Regions from separate parts of the Homo sapiens genome. Here region 1 is linked to region 2. The links are contacts of gene promoters, found by promoter capture Hi-C in human tissues and cell types (Jung and others, 2019). All regions are on one chromosome and are shown on one strand. Each heading gives the region's core, a stretch centred on a gene start or on the middle of the fragment in contact. The rest is flanking DNA. Distances are from core to core; before and after follow the strand shown.

Evidence for each region. Contacts are between HindIII fragments. The study calls those that stand out against the background at their distance.
Region 1: a contact is called between a fragment that was not itself captured here and the fragment with the promoter of IL6ST in region 2, in 1 of the 25 tissues and cell types used here (dorsolateral prefrontal cortex).

The regions. Positions count from the first base shown.
Region 1 is chr5:56,469,040-56,474,815 of GRCh38, reverse strand. The region is part of intron 1 of LINC01948 (long intergenic non-protein coding RNA 1948); the gene reads left to right. Among named protein-coding and RNA genes, the nearest start is that of LINC01948, 9.8 kb to the left of the region's middle. The HindIII fragment of the contact is 4,062 bases long and covers 548-4,609 here.
Region 2 is chr5:55,992,697-55,998,565 of GRCh38, reverse strand. IL6ST (interleukin 6 cytokine family signal transducer) reads left to right here and starts at 3,603. Exons shown (of 17, transcript NM_002184.4): 1 at 3,603-3,782. It overlaps IL6ST-DT (IL6ST divergent transcript), which reads right to left and starts at 3,399. Exons shown (of 2, transcript NR_102755.1): 1 at 3,012-3,399. RefSeq lists an enhancer at 3,050-3,561, cis regulatory regions at 3,150-3,823, 2,517-4,835 and a silencer at 3,393-3,872. The HindIII fragment of the contact is 11,738 bases long and covers 1-5,869 here.

The DNA of each region.
Region 1 (5,776 bases), core at 1,329-3,828, 480 kb before region 2:
GTTGAGAGTGGTGAAAGAGGTGCGTTTGATGGGTGGGCAACTTTTGGCACCATTATGGGCTAGAAATCTACCACCATGAGACACCCGGACATTACACAGTTTACCTAATGAGCCCAGTGATGCACAAGAGTTTTGAAAGTTGCCAATAGAAAGATTTTAATTCGAGAAAATTATAATGTGTGATATCTAGATGAGTTGTCATTTTGTTTACCAGTGATTGCTCAATGATTGACTTCTCTGCCTTGACTAGATGCTAAATCGCTCCCGTAACTGAACTCAACACAGACATACTCCCCTCCCACCCCATCACCCCTGTGCTTGGGCCTCAATTAAGTTGTGTTTGTATAAAAATTTAAAAATTGTATCACAGTGTTCCATGGTCAAGCATATTTGACCATGGAACGCTATTATTATGAAGCATCTACTAACATCACACTGAACACTGATGTTCAGTAGACACCATTTGAAAGTGTTAGCCTAGTATTTTACGTTATACCTAAACTATGACCAGGGAAAGGACTGTGCACTGTTTTTATGTACCAGAACCTCCGCTGAATAGAATACCAAATAGGTACTTACAAGTAACTTATTGAGGGATTAACTCTGAGAGTAATTAACTAGTGCAACTTCAAACCCCTTTACTTGGACAATGTCCCATATTCTTTCAGAAAATTATCATTTTAGTAGATGAAATTTAAGAGATACTTTCATTACATAAGAACCTGTCCTATGGGAGTAAAGAAAATGGTACAATCAAGTGTCCTAGATTCAATTATTAGTTTTCTGCCACACTCTGAGTCTGTGAGTAGGAGGAAGGTGACAAGAGCATGAACATGTGCACACGCGCACACACACACACACACGCACACACCAGTGAGTGTGTTGTTCATTGTGATTCTCCATCTTCAAAACTTACCTTAATAACGGCTGCTCTTGCATTACTCATAATAGCCAAAAGGTAGAAGCAACCGAAGTGTCTATCACTGGGTAGATGAATAAACAAAATGTGATATATACATACAATAGAATATTACTCAGCCTTAAAAAGGAAGGAAATTCTGACACATTCTACAGCATGGATGGACCTCGAGGACATTATAGTAAGTAATAAGCCAATTATAAAAAGACAGCTACCATACAATCTTGCTTACATAAGGTACCTAGAGTAGTCAAATTCTTAAGAGACGGAAAGTAGAATTGTGGTTTCCAGGTGCTGGGGGAAGAAAGAATTGTTTAATGGATAAAGAGCTTCAGTTTTTCTAGATGAAAAAGTCTTAGAGATTGTTGCTCAGAAATGTGACTACACATAACGCTACTGAACTATACACTTAAAAATGGTTAAGATGGCAAATTACATTATGTAAGTTTTACCACAGTTAAAAAACAAAATAATAAATAACATTGCTCGATAATGATCAATATACTGAAAATCAAGCTTTAGGCAAAATAACATTATTGTCACTCTAAAGAAATGTTTATGATCTTTATGTGGGAGGTGTAAATCTAGATTTTATTCCTGTTCTTGACTGTTAACTAATTATTCTGGGTTTATGGAAAGAGTCCTGGAGATTGGTTGCACAACCATGCCATGTACTCTATACTACTGAATTGTACACTTACACCTGATTAAGACGGGAAATTTTATGTGTATTTTACCACAATTAAAAGGAAAAAAGAAGACCTGCAGGCTCAGAAGTTTTACAATTTCTAAAGAGTCAGAGAGAGAAAAAGACGCCTAAATATATTTCACTTAAAATTTCTTCAATATTTATTATTTGGAATAAGTAGTGTAGTAATATTTTTAAAATTGCTGTCCTAATACATATCATATTCTTTGAGTTTCTTCTTTTTCTTTTTCTTTTTTTTTTTGAGACAGAGTCTCACTCTGTTGCCCAGGCTGGAGTGCAATGGTGCAATCTCAGCTCACTAAAACCTCCACCTCCTGGGTTCAAGCAATACTCCTGCCTCAGCCTCCCAAGTAGCTGGGGTTACAGGAATGCGCCAAAATGCCCAGCTAATTTTTTTTTTTTTTTTTTTTTTGAGACGGAGTCTCGCTCTGTCGCCCAAGTTGGAATGCAGTGGCGCAATCTCGACTCACTGCAAACTCTGCCTCCCAGGTTCACGCCATTCTCGTGCCTCAGCCTCCCTAGTAGCTAGGACTACAGGTGCCCACCACCACACCTGGCTAATTTTGTTTTTGTATTTTTAGTAGAGACTGGGTTTCACCGTGTTAGCCAGGATGGTCTCAATCTCCTGACCTCATGATCCGCCTTCCTCGGCCTCCCAAAGTGCTGGGATTACAGACGTGAGCCACCACGCCTGGCCTAATTTTTGTATTTTTAGTAGAGATGGGGTTTCACCATGTTGGCCAGGCTGGTCTCGAACTCCTGACCTCAAGCGACCCGTCCCCCTCGGCCTCTCAAAGTGCTGGGATTACAGGCATGAGCCACCGCGCCCAGGCTCTTTGAGTTTCTTCTAAGCTCTGGTGATAGCAATGTGTACTCTACATTGTTTCTGCATGCACTTTAGGAAGCCAAGCATACTCCCCTGACCCTGGCCTATATTACATGATAAAGCATATGTGCAGCTTCCATATTTTTCTTGGAAGGTTAATAGTGCTTTGTTTTCCTCCACCACTGTGGTAGGGGCTGCTGGTGCTCACAATACCCAAGGTCCCCTATTCTTGGGATCCCAATAGATTACACCTCTTAATCCCTGTGCACCAGGGTGGGCTGTAAGACTAGTTTCCATCAGAGTGGATGTGCCTCACCTGAGAGCAGTGGTGCCTTTTCCACGTGTGCTCTTTGCCTTACACTGGCCAAATGGAGAAGATTTCAAAAACTCAGAAGAGGATAGAGCCATAAGAAGGAATGAGCCTGGATTCCTAAATGACTGCATGGAATAGAACTTTGCAGTAGCTCTGTAAGGGAATGTGACCAGAATGAAAGATAAACTTTGCTGTGTTAAGTCACTGGAATTTGGGACTTGTTAAGCAGTTAGTCCGCTCTAACACAACCACCAAAGGTATTACAGAGACAGGATGTGTATTGATGTACCTGTGAGCTAAGGAAAGGTCAGATAGGCAAGGAGCATGGAAATTACAAGTTTCATGATTCCCAGGTGTAAGCGTTTTATGTTGCTCATTAATCATGTGGCAAATATGTTTAAATAAACATAGGCAATTCCTGTTCAACAAATATCTCAAGGGTAAGGGGTTTTGTTGAGGCTTGGACCAGAATGTTAATACCTCCTTTGGGCCCAGCACAGCAGATACAGGAGAAATCAAAGTGAAAGACTTATCAGAGGAAGATAAAACTGAAGCTCAAGTGGGGAGACTCAGGAGCTCCCAGTACAAGAGTCTCTTTCAGAGTTCTAATACCCCAAGTCTTAGAGATTTGAGACTTTTCTTTAAAAGCAATGATCTATGCTGGCACCAAAGAAAATGTAGGGTGGCTCACGCCTGTAATCCCAGCACTTTGGGAGGCCGAGGTGGGCGGACCACAGGGTCAGGAGTTCAAGACCAGCCTGGCCAATATGATGAAACCCCGGCTGTACTAAAAATACAAAAATTAGCCAGGCGTGGTGGTGTGTGCCTGTAGTCCCAGCTACTTGGAAGGCTGAGGCAGAAGAATTGCTTGAACCTGGGAGGTGGAGGTTGCAGTGAGCTGAGATCATGCCATTGCACTCCTGCCTGAGCAACAGAGGGGGACTCCATCTCAAAAATAAAATAAAATAAAATGTAAGACACCCTGACTCTTAGAAGTTCTTCAAATATTATCCATCGAGTCCCGACCCTCATCCCATCCCACCCTTGGTTCTCAGTTGTTCTTACCAACAATTTCTGTGTCAGAGACTGGAACTACGGACTAGCTCCCTCAACTCAGCAGTGCACAACAAATTTGGCCCTGTTGACTTTGAGGGAAGCCCTTGTTCTTGGCCCCAGTATGGACCTTTGGCCAATGGAACTATCAACCAGTTTGTTCTTTCTTGTATAGAATGACCTCTCAGCTTCACACCTATGGTTCTTTTTCAGCTCTGAAACTCTTGTGATCCCTTGTTTGGAGGTTAATAGAGTGCATTTTTATGACCCTTCAATGAGTTTGTATTCACTAGAAATGAAATCCTTATCATGTTCTCCAAGCCTCTGTGTGACCTGGCACTGCACCCCTATGACATCCTGGGCTGCTTCTCACCTTTCCTTATCACAGCTACCCTGGGTGTCAGTTCCTGAAAGATGCTACCTCTTTCTGAGGGCCTTTCAATGGCTGGTTCCTATGCTTGGAAATGTTCTTCTCTCAGCTCTCACCATGCTTAGCTCTTTGTCCTCCTGAAATCTCATCACAAAAGCCACCTCCACAGGGAAGCTTTCTCTGACACAGCCCCCTAACACAGGTCTCTGTATTGGTCACCTTGTGTGTCCTCACAGCCCACTCAGCCCACCTCTTGGCCAGCCATCGTAGCAACAAACTTTGTCTGGGTGACAGTACCTGGCAACCCCTGGCCTCAGCTGTACCTGGCTTCTTTCAGTTTCTGGCCCAGGATTTCTCTGGTATTGCGATGGGAGCTTTGCACGCACAGCCTAGGAACGGGAGGAAATGAACAACTCGTGACCATTGGGAGGTGGTGGACCCGTGTTTATCTCTTCCTTCTATGGGTTGGACAGTTCTGAGGTGCATTCTCCTCTACTCTTTGGTGTCCCGGCAGAATTGTTCCCATGGCACACAGCAGTGACCAACTTGAGAATGCACCCTAGTTTCAGCTTTTCCTCTTTCTTTTTTTTTTCCCCCAGTCCCCACTGCTCTTCCCTGTGATCACTTCCCAAAAGAAACCACCTATGTGCAATTCTTTGCCAAGCTTTCCACAGAGAACTTATGCTAAGAGAGTCCTCCTTCCTTATTTAATATATCAGGATCTTTGTCTTTCTCATAGCACTTACTACAGCTTACATTAATTTTATTTTTTTCTATGGTTATGTATTTTTTTCTGTCTAGATTAGAATGTAAATGCCACAGGGCAGGAACCTAGTCAGTTTTCAACTGTATCTTCAGCTCCTCATGTGTAGTTCCTGGCATAGACACACCATCACTAAACATACACAAAACGAATGAATAATCTCAAAAATTCTTGTGTCTTATTTTTTTAATTACCCTTGTATTCTAGGTATTGAGAGGCAATATAACATACTTGTTAAAAGCCTACATTTTGGAGTTAGACATTCCTGACTCTGCCACCTAAGTAGCTCAGTAGCCTTGAGCCAGTTACCAACCATGCTGAACACCAATTTCCCCAACTGTAAAGTGGGATTAATAATAGTACCTAGTCCATGGGATTTTTATGATACTGAAATAAAATATATAGAAAGCATTTAGAACAGTATCTGGCACACAGAAACCACCTAATATACTTTGCTTTTAAAATACTCATTTAGCTAAAATTTGAAATTGCACAAATGTAATCTCTACTTTAGACCTTCCAAATTTGTCAGTCCTTTACCTACATTTCCCAAGTGTGCTTGAGGTTAATAATATCACCCTAATGACTTGTAGCTGGGAATCAAATGATTTGGATGTGCAGTGCTCTTTAAACATTCCACGTGTCTTTAGTTTCCCCTATGAAGTGCTTTGGGAACATACTTAATAAAAAACAGACAAAGACCAATGCTGATGTGTAACATGTTAATTTCCTCCATTTCTTGTCTTTTGAGGGTTCTTATTCCATGTGATTACATTTTTACGTTGTAAGCTAGAACCACAACCAGATAATAATCATGATCATA
Region 2 (5,869 bases), core at 2,354-4,853:
AAAAGGAAATAGTTAGGAAATAGCCTGATAAGGTAAACATAGCTGAAGGTCAAGGGAACTGAAGAGAATAGTGCAGTTAAAATGGTTGATAAAAGGGTTCTTGGGGGGCGGTGGCTCACCCCTGTAATCCCATCACTTTTAGGAGTTGAGATCAGCCTGGCCAACTTGGTGAAACCCCGTCTGTACTAAAAGTACAAAAAATTAGCCAGGCATGGTGGTGAGCACCTGTAATCTCAGCTACTTGGGAGGCTGAGGCAGGAGAATCACTTGAACCAGGGAGGCGGAGGTTGCGGTGAGCCAAGATCGTGCCATTGCACCCCAGCCTGGACAACAACAGCAAAACTCCGTCTCAAAAAAAAAAAGGGGGTTCTTACTGGTAAGTAAGATAAAAAATGATAGGAAACAGCTGATAAACTATGAGAAGAAAGACTGGCTGTCAGGCTGTCACATTGAGGACAAATTACAGATTCAATGGGAATGACCACAGAATAGAGATAGATGGGGGTAGGTGGCTGTAGGTACAGAGAGGGAAACTCACAATCCAGCATTTTGGAGGGGAAGTAATTTCATTGATGACTAGGTTGAAGGTGTGGCTCCATCTGTGGGTTGCTGATACAGAGTGAAGTTGAAGATGATTGGAAAAGAAAACGATGAGAAATTGTGAGGTCAGAGTGCTAATGAGTCATGAACATGGATGCTGAAATCATTAAGGTGATACAGAACATGAGGATAATTCCAGGGCTGACACAGAATTTCAGAAACATAACTGGGCACAGACAAGGAAGTAAAGGGATATCCTAGTCAGCACCAGATTTAGGGAATTAGAAATGCAGGCAAAGTTTGTCTTTGACATTTATCACCTTTGTTCCATGGCACAATTTCCTAAGCTTTGCTCACTTACTCCCAAGTAATTGTAATTTTGGTGCCTTCATGTTACTTTCTCACTGTACAGTTTCCTCAATCTCTTTTTTTTTTTTTTTTTTTTTTTGAGAAGGAGTTTTGCTCTGTCACCCAGGCTGGAGTGCAGTGGCAGGATCTCAGCTCACTGCAACCTCTGCCTCCTGGGTTCAAGTGATTCTCGTGCCTCAGCCTCCCAAGTAACTGGGATTACAGGCACCCACCACCATGCCTGGCTAATCTTTGTATTTTTAATAGAGTTGGGGTTTCACCAGGCTGGTCTTGAATTCCTGGCCTCAAGTGATCCGCCTGCCTCAGCCTCCCAAAATGCTGGGATTACAGGTGTGAGCCACTGCACCCGGCCTGCTCTTGACATATCTAAAATCTCAAATGGTCACAGGACACAAATGGAGAGTTCTCCATTAATATACTACTTTCCCCTACTTACCTTTGCATTTTGACAAGGCTTTCTAGTAACAAATCCTTAATCTGAAATTCGTAATTTCAAGGCCAATACTCTACAGAGGTATCTGCAAAGTCATGTAATTCCAGCACAGCAGAGGTCTTCCGTCCTGTTGCTCTGAAAAATACTTCTCCAATATTGATTCATCCTTTTGGCCTCAGACTTTAACTACTCCCATAAAATGTGAGTTTCTTGGGAGCAGGACCTGAGCTGAGCCAATAAAAAGACACCCATAAAAGCACTAACTCAGTCATTTGTTTTCCTAATGGTGCCAAGGCAGGCTGGTGTGTTGTGACATATCAATCCACTTCTGTGTACCTGCCCTTCCCCGTCCAGCAAAATATCATCATTTTTAATATATGTTGTGATACTAAAATATTTCAGAAGTGTTGACCGAGTAGACATTCAATAATGATTATAGCTGATACTTACAGAGCACCTACTATGTGCCAAACACTGTATGTATTTTAACTCATTTAATCCTTGCAACAATCCTGTTAGGTTGGTATTGTTATTCTCATTTTGCAGATGAAGAAATTTGAAAAGACTTGCCCAAGGTCACAGAGATGAGAAATAGAGGCATCAGCATTTAAACCTAGGCAATCTAGAACCAGAGGGTACATTTAACCACTATACATCTCCCCTAAATACATCTTTGCATCACACCTGTTATCTCAGCACTTTGGGAGGCCACTAAGGCCGGAGGATCGTTTGTTGCCAGCAGTTCAAGACCAGCCGGGTCAGCATACCAAAATCTTGTCTCTCCAAAAATTTTAAAAATTGGCCAGGTATTGTAGGGGCACCTGTAGTCTGAGATACTTGGGAGGTTGAGGTGGGAGGATCGCTAGAGCCCAGGAATTTGAACGTGCGGTGAGCATGATCCAGCCACTGCACTCCAGCCTGGGTGACAGAGTGAGACTGTGAACAACAACAAAAAAATCAAGTTTCCTGGATCTATACAAAATTTTCAATTTAACAAATTTTTATAAAAATTTGTTTTAAAATAAACACCCCTCTAAATGGCAAAGCTAGAACAGAATCTGGTCACAATCTATAGGTTAGATATAGGATGACAGGGAGGAGCAAGAGCTGAACACATCAGCTGCAGCACCATCTACTTTGCCTGCGACTCCGTTAGCAGGCCCACTTTGCCCTTTTATAAATTATCTGATCAACAACTAAGAGATTAAAATTCGATCTATGTTTTACTCTATCTGAATCCTCAATATAATGAAGAACTTTATAATTGTTAATTTATGGATATAATTTAAGTTCATTAAACCATTATTTCCTTCCTATATCCTCTCATTCTTCCACAAAAACCTCTACCTTTGGGTGTTTACTTTTACAGACACCCACGCACACACCCCACACGCACGCACGCACATGCCTTATCTTTTAACTCAAGATTCTCATCTTCCTTTGGGGAGAAACAAACATCATGAGCCTTGAGGTCCATTTTCTGAGGGAAAGGGGGGGGCGGAGGCGGGATGAATAGGTTTTTACCCGGTATTTTTTATCATAAACGGGGAGGTACAAACCGCAAAGAAACACTAGTCGCTTGGTGGGCCACCACCTCTGGGGCTCACTGATCAATCGCACCCAAACTCATTTACTAATTTAAAAAAGTACTGTGGCAAGGCTCGTTTACGTAAGTCTTGGAGAGAAGCCGCCGCCACAATCTGCCGCAGTCTCGTGCGGAGTCACGGCCACCGAGCTCTTCACTTTCCCCAAGAGGCTCCCACGCCTTCCCCATCCCCAAGGGAGCTAGGCGGTCCCTCGCGGCTCTGAGTCCCTCGGGGAAGGCCGCGAAGAGAGGCCGCAGGCGCCCTGGCGAGAAGGGAGGGCGGGGGCAGCGGGCGGCGGGCAGCACCCGGGCTCCAGTTCATGACCCCGTTATTCCACAGAAAAATGGAACATTCCGCTCTTTCCGCCCACAGAGGGGAGGTGGGGGGAACCCTTCGATCTAGTCTGGGAGAGGCGACGCGGACGCAGCCACCGGAATCCGGGACGCGAAGAGCCGCGTTACGGGAATCGCTACCCCTCGGAGTCCCGCCCCCTCGTCGACAGGCGGCCACTGGACCAATGCCTGGGCGCAAAGGGTCTCTCAGGGGCCAATCAGCGCCTAGGTCCCGGTAGGGGGCGGGGCGCAGCGTTGGCCGGCCGGGGGCGCAGCTGGGCGGGATTGGGGAGCGCCCCGCCCCGCCGCGGGACTGGGGTGGCGCGCTACCTCTGCGGAGAAGGATCTGACAGTGTTCCGGAGCCGGGGCGAGCAGCCAAAAGGCCCGCGGAGTCGCGCTGGGCCGCCCCGGCGCAGCTGAACCGGGGGCCGCGCCTGCCAGGCCGACGGGTCTGGCCCAGCCTGGCGCCAAGGGGTTCGTGCGCTGTGGAGACGCGGAGGGTCGAGGCGGCGCGGCCTGAGGTGAGGAGGGGCCGGGTGCTGGGTCGCGTAGCTGGAGTTAGAGTGTCGGTGGTTTCGGACGGGCTATCTGGCACTCGAGGAGACCTCCCTTCCCCCTGAGAGCAGCGCCCGGAACTTGTCAGCCCAGCCTGGAAATCCCCACATTCCTTCCCCTTCCTGCTCCCGGACCTCCGAATTCTACTTCCACAACTTTGTCACCTCGATTATCGCAGCCCTGAGTACAAACTTCACCCAGGCGCACGCACGCACCCCTCTTAACGCCCGCCCCGCAGAACGCCCTTCAAGAACAAACCCCCCTTTTTGTTACCAGATCCCACGTTTTTCCCAATCCCCTTTTCATCTCCCCTGAAATTCTATTCGCTCCGCACTTGTCTTCATTCTCGAGGTGGATTTCCCTTCCCCAAAGCCGTTTTTTCATCTTGAAATCGTAACGTTTCAGCTTTGTTGAAAGTTCACAATGCTTATAAACACTATTAACGTTTCTTTCCTTCTTTTGATCTTTTCTATTAATAATTATCATTCCTAACGAATTCCACATCTCACTGTATCCCAAGGAGAACAAATCAGTTTTTAAAATTTTACCTCCTCCGACCTAAACTTTTGAAGATAGTGCAGGAAGCAAGGGTCTGTTCTTCAGTGGATGAACAGCATTTTATTTCATAATCCGAAACTGAAAAAAAAAAAAAATCACAGGTTAAAAATAAGACGTCACCTTTTTTTTTTTTTTTTTTTTTTGCCTTCAGAAGGAAACGCATTTTGGCTTAGTTTGTGAAGTATTTCAACAATTATACTGCCTTAAAATAACTAGTTATTAGAATGCCAGGGTGAATTTTCTGAAAGATTGTGGTATTTGCTTTTGACAGTGCTGTAAACAAACCCTTTAAACTGTGTATGACTGCCAGCTTCAAGTTGGAACAACTCTTAATTTGAAATTACGGACTCAGATCATCAGTTTAGCTGTGTGCCATTATGTTAATTTCTTAAATTCATGTTAATTCCTATTTGGAAGTATTTTTGAACTATGAACTGAAATATTACATTTATAGAACCAACTTGCTATTAAATTGTGCTTTCCAACTATTTCTCTTTAGGGATAATCTTGAACGTTTGTTTTTAATCTTGAGTGAAAGAAAAAAATTACAGGAAGGAGAAAGTGTCAAAAAGGACAGACTGTAGTGGGATTTTTTTCTTATTTTAAGTATGTATTGACAATACCAGTTTAATTTTCTCACAGGCAATTTAGATTATTATAAATACTGCTGCCACCTAATTTAATATAATATAGTCTTACGTAACTAAAAATGTTGTTCTCACTCTTATTTGTGAATTGCAGTATTTTCAATTTATTTAAATTTGTTTCCAAGGCTTTGCACTTCAGTTCAGTGTTAGGGCGAAAGTTAAATACATGTGAAGTAGGTGTTAAAATGTCCCCTTTATAGAGAAGGAAACAGGAGTCTCGCTGAAAACTAGATCTGTGTGACTCCAAATCCTGTGCTCTGAATCATTTTGTCATGTTGACACGTTTCTCATAAAAACCCCAGTGCCACAATTTGGTTTGGGAACTTAAGGGCAACCCATAAATCCTCTACAGTGGCAGGGAGGGATTCCCCGCTCCCTCCTTTCAGAGCTGCTCATTTTAATGGGAGTCAGAATTCTCTGGCCCTAATACATTTGCAGCTTGGCTCCTAGAGAAGCATGGAATGTTCTCACAGCTTCTCCGTTTCTTTGATTGCAAAGGCAGAATGATCAGAGTTGAGGTTCCTATTGTGCTTTATTATTTTACACAGCAAATACTAAGCAATTACTACCTGCTGTACGAACTCACAAAGGTGCAGGAGATGTAATCAGGACCTTCAAAGAGTTTATAATAATTGGATTGACAAACTTATACGAAAAAAACTACAAGGATGCAAAGCAGTTTTAATTAAATGCAGAGTGATGCAGAAAATCCTGTAGATATTAAAATTAGGGAATGATCGTTTAAGGATTGGAGTGAGCATTTAAGGATTGGAATGAGCAAAGGATTTACCAGAAGTTGGCCTTGAAACCTGGGTAGGATTTGGATAAAGGGAAAAATGAAGACAGCC